Regions from separate parts of the Homo sapiens genome. Here region 2 is linked to region 1. Evidence: promoter capture Hi-C in 16 types of primary human blood cells and fetal thymus (Javierre and others, 2016). All regions are on one chromosome and are shown on one strand. Each heading gives the region's core, a stretch centred on a gene start or on the middle of the fragment in contact. The rest is flanking DNA. Distances are from core to core; before and after follow the strand shown. Region 1 holds the start of ZDHHC12 (zDHHC palmitoyltransferase 12). Region 2 overlaps DYNC2I2 (dynein 2 intermediate chain 2).

Region 1 (3,548 bases), core at 504-3,003:
CCTGGCATGGAGACTGGTGCTGGTTGTTAGGTCCCTGTTGGTGAGAGTAGGGGCCCCTGGTTACCTGAGGCTGGGGCTGCACATTCACGTAGCCAGGGTCCATGAGTGACACAGCGAGGTAGAGCAGCAGGGAGCCCAGCACCAGGAGCAGGAAGGTGAGGGGCAGGAGCAGCTCCCCCTGCTCCTCCCATTGCCGCAGCTCTGGAGAGGCCGGAGAGCACAGTGAGGCTGGGCCGGGTAGAACAGGAGTGGGTGGGGTTGGGGTGCAGTTGGAGGTGGGGAAGTGTGTTCCTGGCTGAGCAAAGGCCTGGAGATGTTGGTTCCATGAGTGGCTGTGTGTGGCCAGCAGTTCATCTGCACTTTTATCTGGAGGGTCAGAGGGAACCATGGAAGGTTATAGAGCCAGATCTGTTTTGGAAAACCTCATTGCTAAAGAAATGGATCAGGGGAAGCCTGGGGGCAGAGAATCTGGCCAGGAGGAAGAAGAGAGTCGCTACAAAGGCCTGGCAGGAAGTGAGGGAGGAAGGAATGGACAGGGGGCTGCTGGGTCAAGGGAGCCAGACCTGACTGGATGTGGGAGAGAGGGAAGAGGGGTCCAGCGTCTCTGGCTCTGCAATGGTGAGAGACTGGTTAGGTCTGAAATGCCTGAGAGAGATACAGTGGGAAGGGTGCAGCTGGCAGGCTCAGATGCTGCAGAGGGGCATACGGAAGGGTCCAGCAGGCTTCAGCCCAGGGAGGTGACAGGATTTTGGGGAGGTAGGGTGCAGGGCAAGGAGTGAGGGGGCATGAGACCACCAGACAGCAGAGTGTAGACAAATCCTGTGTCCCTTGGTTGTAAGGGGGAGCAGAGAAGAAAGGGTGGGTTTTGAGGGGGGTTTTCTGATACGGAGACCTGAGCAAGTTTTTAGGCTAAAGGGTGAAGGTGGTGGAGGAGGTCTGTCTTGGGAGGAAAGCCAGAAGGGGCCCCAGTCCAGAAACTGAGGCTGGACCGCCATGGAAGGAGGGCTGGGGTCTGCTGTGGGGGACAGTGGGGGAGGCTGCCTGTGGCAGGTGAGGCGCTGGGTAGGGGGCTACTAAGAGGAATGAGGGAAATGGAGGTGGGTGGGTGGGTGAATCTGTGGGAAGATGGGAGACAGGCCGCACCCCATGGAGTGTTCTCTGGCCTGAGGGTTTGCCTGGACTTGGGCAGCTAGTGGCCATGGGGGTGTGGGGGGTGTGGGTGTGGGCAGAATGCCAATCTTTGCATCTAGTTGAGCCTCCTAATCGTATGGATAGGAAGATTTGGGGTCAGTTCCTGGGAAGGATCATGTGGGTCCCAGGATCAGGGGACATGGGGCTCAAGTCGGTCCTTGGATCTGGTGGGCACCGGCTGGGTCCTGGGATGGACAGGGCATTTGGCAATGATCAGGAAGATGCTGGGATTAATTAGGGATCAACGGGGTATCAGACAGAGAGCAGGTGGCTCTTGGAATGATAGATGGGGAGAGGGCTTCAGGAGCTGGTGGAGATCGGGCCAATCCCAGGATCTCCAGGGATTAGGCGGGAGACCCAGTGTGACCAGAACGTCTGGGGAAGTACGCGGGATCGGGTGGGTCCGGGGTCGCTCGGGGTCCGGCTCACCGGTATCGTGCAGGAAGAGCACCAGCGTGATTCCCCAGGTCAGCACGGTGTGCCCGGTCCGCACCAGGACCCCAGGGCTGAGGAGCGCCCAGGGCGCCATCGCCTCGGCCCGGGGCCCCACCCGGAAGAAGCGCCCAGAGGGGCGGGCCCTCCGAGGGAGGGGAACGCCGCCGCCCGGGGACTGGTGGATCTAGGCGTTGGGCGGGGCCGGACTGGGTCAGGGAGGCTGCCTATTGGATGGCATCTGCGGCCGAATGGACCCTCAAGCCAACAGGTGCCTGAAGAGGCTGAGGGTGGGGCCGGCGCGCGCGCAGCTGGTAACTCCCTCAACTCCAGCCCCACCCGCCAGGTAACTTTTGAAAGCGCCGGAGCGCGCGCGCACCTCCCCCGCGCTCCGCTGTGCCCTCCCCCGCGTTCCCCTGTGCCCGCCCTCGCAGCCTCGCGCATGCGCGTAGCTCCCTGGGCGCTTCGAAGATCCAGCGGCTTGCTGTGAGTCCGGGAGGCAAAATTGTACCCATTTCAAAGATGTGATGACTAAAGTCTCGAGAGGGCCAAGGCTCGCCCAAGGTTGCTCTGTGGTGACAGCTTTACCTCCTTGCTATGTATTCTCAGATATTGCAAACGGACGAGAGAAAAGTGGAGGTACGTGGTGCACATTCTGACTATGGGTGATCCAACTTAGGCGGGAGTCAGAAATCCCAGCACTGCCCCTTCCTACCTGTGTGACCCTGGGCGAGTTACTGAGCCCCTCTGAGCTGTTTTCTGTCTCTATAAGGGGGATTACAATAGTGTCTTCCTCCTAAGGTGTTTGGGAGGATTAAATAATGGAAGCGCCTTGTCTAGCACGGGACTGTCTTGCCTCTCCTGCTGTGAGCCACCACCTACAGGCGGACTTTCCTCACCGGAGGCTGCAGGCTGTCCTCCTTCCCTGTGTCCCCAGGGCCTTCTCCACTCAGCCCCGCCTTTCCACAGCACCTCCCACTGATACCAGCATCCTCCTCCGCCTCCCTCTGATTGGCCCCATCCCAGCTCCTCCAGGATACTCCTCTGACATCTGTTGTTTTTCTCAGCTCAACATCCTTTTTTTGGTTGGGGAATCGACTTCCCATCCCATGTGATTGGAGGGACTGCCCCTCACCCCATAGGATGGCGAGCGGCAGGCTGTGGGCTTTCGACTCTGCAGAACCAATCACAGGCCTTCCATGAGATTACTGTCTAGATGCTGAGAGGAAGGAGCATTCTTTTGGATCTCAAGCCTAAGGAATGGGATATAAGGCAACTGGGAGCCGTCTTTACGCTGGGCGGAGAGGGCTTACCCTGTCTGTGGCTGGAGAAAATGAGACCAACTTATAAAGACACATAGAGATGGATAAGCAGCACTAAAGGAGGGAGCAAGAGATGGTCTGAACAACATTGTCTGAGCCCTCTAGATCCGGCTGTCCCTGAAGCTGATACTGACTCTGCATCCCCTGGTTGCAAGAGTCAATGAATGCCCACCTTTTTTTTTTTTTTTTTTTTGAGACAGAGCCTCACTCTGTTGCCTAGGCTGGAGTGCAGTGGCGCGATCTGGGCTCACTGCAACCTCCACCTCCCAAGTTCAAGTGATTCTCCTGCCTCAGCCTCCCAAGTAGCTGGGGTTACAGGCACATGCCACCACGCCCAGCTAATTTTTGTATTTTTAGTAGAGACAGGGTTTCACTATGTTGTCCAGGCTGGTCTCGAATTCCTGACTTCAAGTGATCTGCCTAACTCAGCCTCTCAAAGTGCTGGGATTACAGGTGTGAGCCACCATGCCTGGCCCCAATTCCCACCTTTGACTAGCCTGAGTAGATGTTTGAGTTGGGTGTCTGTCATTTGCAGCTAAGTCTTGACTACTGCACTGGGTGCAGGATCTGATGTGCTCAGTGGGGACATCCAGCACATTATCC
Region 2 (3,760 bases), core at 605-3,104, 83 kb before region 1:
ATCACAGCACTTTGGGAGGCCAAGGCAGGCAGATCACCTGAGGTCAGGAATTCGAGACCAACCTGACCAACATGGTGAAATCCATCTCTACCAAAAATACAAAATTAGCCGGGCGTGGTGGCGGGTGCCTGTAATCCCAGCTGCTCAGGAGGCTGAGACAGGAGAATTGCTTGGACCCGGGAGGCAGAGGTTGCAGTGAGCCAAGATCATGCCACTGCACTCCATCCTGGGTGACAGAGCGAGACTCTGTCTCAAAAAAATAAAAAAAAAAGAAAAAGACAAAAGCTCCCTCATCTCAAACCCAATACTGTCTGCCCAACTGCCCATCAGCATTTACAGGGTCATGACTCTGGACTGTACTTGGAGGGCAGATGACCCAGAGCATGGCAGTGAAACCAGAGAGACTGGGGTTCAAGTTCTGGAGCTGTGTGTGTGGACCTGGATATGTCACTTAGCCTCTCTCAGCCTCATCTATAAACTGAAGATTATAATAGCACTACCTCATACAGTTTTTTTTTGTTGTTTTTTTGTCTTTTTTTGAGATGGAGTCTTGCTCTGTCACCCAGGCAGGAGTGCAGTGGCACAGTCTCAGCTCACTGCAAGCTCCGTCTCCCGGGTTAAAGTGATTCTCCTGCCTCAGCCTCCCGAGTAGCTGGAACAACAGGCGTGCACCACCACGCCTGGCTAATTTTTGTATTTTTAGTAGAGAGGAGGTTTCACTATGTTGGCCAGGCTGGTCTCGAACTGCCAACCTCAGGTGATCCACCCACCTTGGCCTCCCAAAGTGCTGGGATTACAGGCGTGAGCCACTGTGCCCAGCCTCATACAGTTGTTTTGAGGAGTGAAGAAGATACCACAGGAGACATTCTTTTTTTTTTTTTGAGACAGAGTCTCGCTCTGTTGCCCAGGCTGGAGTGCAGTGGCGTGACCTCAGCTCACTGCAAGCTCCACCTCCCGGGCTCACGCCATTCTCCTGCCTCAGCCTCCAGAGTAGCTAGGACTATAGGCACCTGCCACTACGCCCGGCTAATTTTTTTTTGTATTTTTAGTAGAGACGGGGTTTCACCGTGTTAGCCAGGATGGTCTCCATCTCCTGACATTGTGATCCGCCCGCCTCGGCCTCCCAAAGTGCTGGGATTACAGGCGTGAGCCACCACACCTGGCCAAGGAGACATTCTTAAACTGTGCCTGGCCCAAAGAAGGCCCTCACTGCACCGTACATGGGGAGGCAGGGCAGCCGGGCCACCCAGACTCTAGCCTGCCTCCACTGCTCAGCTGCTCAGTTTCACTCTGGACGTTACTTCCATATAGGGTGTCCATCTCCCTAACTGTAAAGTGGACAGAACAATACCGACCTCAAGGTCAGCAGTGAAGGCTCACTGACTTATTCTTAGGGAACCTAGCGCAGTACCAGGCAGGACATTAGAGCCTGGTGATTGCTGGCCGTGATGATGACTGGCACGGCTGTTATTTGTGGGAAGGAAAACAAGAGGAGACAGAAGTGGGGCAGGGGCTCGACCCGAGGCTGCACCAGCCCATCCCCTACCATCTGCTGCTGCTCGGTCCAGTTCACCTCGAAGCCATCAAACGCGTGGCTCTGCCAATTCTTGTTCAGCTCTCGGATGACCATGGCCTCCACTCTCCGAAGAAAGGCTGCGAGCCTGGGTATGTCATACTGGGACGGGGGCTGCACGCTGACAGGCACGGGGGCCTCCGTCTGCACCTGGGCGTCCACATGATTCCTGGCCTGGGCGGATGCACTGGCAGTGGCAATGCTGGCCGTCTGGCAACTTTTCTGGGGGGAGGGTGAAAACAAGTGTCACCACCCAGCTGTCCTCGCACAGCCCCCACCCAGCCCCCTGCCTGCCCCTCCTGCTTGACCCCCTCCTTGCTGCTGTGGGTCTCAGGCTAGGGGCCTCTCTCAGTGAGGTCTTGGTTGGAGATGGCCCCTTGATTCTCCTATGTCCCACAACCAATCAGTGCCAGCCAATCAGAGCACCGTGTCCCTACCTCAGCCACAGTGACCAATTCAGGGCTGGCCAAGTGACCAACACAGGCCAGTGAGACCCTGCCCCAAGACTTTTGGTGCAACAATTCGGAGGAGTCAGAGGGCTCCCTTTCTGAAGATGCGGAGGGCAGGCAGAACCACATCGGCTCACAGCAGCACCCTGGCAGACACATGGTCTGATGCCCATGAACACCCCAGCTTCACACCACCAGGCCCTCCCTCAACGGGCAGCCCTCCCAGCACCCGGGTAAGCAACAGCAGCTTCAGCATCCACTATGAGCTGCTAGGTGGGAGGCAGAGCACTGCCCCCAGAGGCCTTGCTCTCCACCCTGCCACCACGCCTACTATTCCTGGTCCCCTGCTTAGCTGTACCTGGCACAGGTACAAACATCAGAACAGGGCAGGAGAGGCCAGCCTCCCTTTCTTACAGACATGCCCAATCTTCACCAAACCAAGGCTCTCTGGGCGGAAGCAATCATGGTGATTGCTGCTATCTGTGAGGGGCTCTCCTCGGGTGGCTGCTCAAGGGACAATGACAAGGCCCTGGACTGCCACACTCCCTCCTTCCCATCTCATGCGGGATTCGAGCTGGGCCAGGAGGCAAGCCCGGAGGAAGAGGGCAGGACTCACCAGGACAGTTCTCTTCTGAACACACAGGCCTCAGCACTGGTACCCACCCTCACCTCCACAGGCCACTCAGTTCTCTCTGCTTGTCTGTGTCCTACTGAACCGCCAGCCCCCCAGCATAAGACTCTTGTCTGATCTTTGTATCCCCAGCACTTTGCATGGTATTTGGCACAAAGCAGATGTTCATTTATATACATACACACACACACACACACACACACACAAATGCCGGGCACGGTGGCTCACGCCTGTAATCCCAGAATTTTGGGAGGCCGAGGCGGGCGGATCACAAGATCAGGAGATCAAGACCATCCTGGCTAACACGGTGAAACCCAATCTGTACTAAAAATACAAAAAATTAGCTGGGCATAGTGGCGAGCATCTGTAGTCCCAGCTACTCGGGAGGCTGAGGCAGGAGAATGGCGTGAACCCAGGAGGCGGAGCTTGCAGTGAGCCAAGATCGTGCCACTACACTCCAGCCTGAGCGACAGAGCAAGACTCCGTCTCAAAAAAAAAAAAAAAAAAAATTAGCCGGGTGTGGTGGCGCGTGCCTGTAATCCTAGCTACTCAGAAGGCTGAGGCAGGAGAACTGCTTGAACCCGGGAGGCGGAGGTTGCACTGAGCCGAGATCATGCCACTGCACTCCAGCCTGGCCTATGGTAGGAGACTTTCTCAAAAAAAAAAAAAAAAAAAAAAAATTACTTATTGAGGCCGGGCGCAGTGGCTCACGCCTGTAATCCCAGCACTTTGGGAGGCCGAGGCGGGCGGATCACAAGGTCAGGAGATCGAGACCATCCTGGCTAATACGGTGAAACCCCGTCTCTACTAAAAATACAAAAAAATTAGCCGGGCATGGTCCTGGGTGCCTGTAGTCCCAGCTACTCGGGAAGGCGTGAACCTGGGAGGCAGAGCTTACAGTGAGCCGAGATTGTGCCACTGCACTCCAGCCCGGGTGACAGAGCGAGACTCCATTTCAAAAAAAAAAATTACTTATTGAGCATCTACTTGCCAGGCATTGTCTGGGTAATGAGGACACAGCAGAAAAGAAAATGTGCAAGATTCTTGTGCCCCAGGCGCTTACATAGGGGTGGGGAGAGATGAATAAACAAGAAAAAAACACCAAAT

The links. Contacts are between HindIII fragments. The CHiCAGO score rates a contact against its expected background, and 5 or more counts as called.
Region 2: a fragment that was not itself captured here is called in contact with the fragment with the promoter of ZDHHC12 in region 1 in 1 of 17 cell types (endothelial precursors); the score reaches 5.2 in endothelial precursors.

What each region holds. Positions count from the first base shown.
Region 1 is chr9:128,722,374-128,725,921 of GRCh38, forward strand. It overlaps ZDHHC12 (zDHHC palmitoyltransferase 12), which reads right to left and starts at 1,754. Exons shown (of 5, transcript NM_032799.5): 1 at 1,621-1,754; 2 at 65-201. The coding sequence starts at 1,720. It overlaps ZDHHC12-DT (ZDHHC12 divergent transcript), which reads left to right and starts at 2,089. Exons shown (of 2, transcript NR_046240.1): 1 at 2,089-2,262. RefSeq lists a silencer at 1,643-2,122. The HindIII fragment of the contact is 13,716 bases long and covers 1-3,548 here.
Region 2 is chr9:128,639,145-128,642,904 of GRCh38, forward strand. DYNC2I2 (dynein 2 intermediate chain 2) reads right to left here. Exons shown (of 9, transcript NM_052844.4): 2 at 1,547-1,795. Among named protein-coding and RNA genes, the nearest start is that of DYNC2I2, 16 kb to the right of the region's middle. RefSeq lists an enhancer at 1,714-2,318. The HindIII fragment of the contact is 4,104 bases long and covers 1-3,760 here.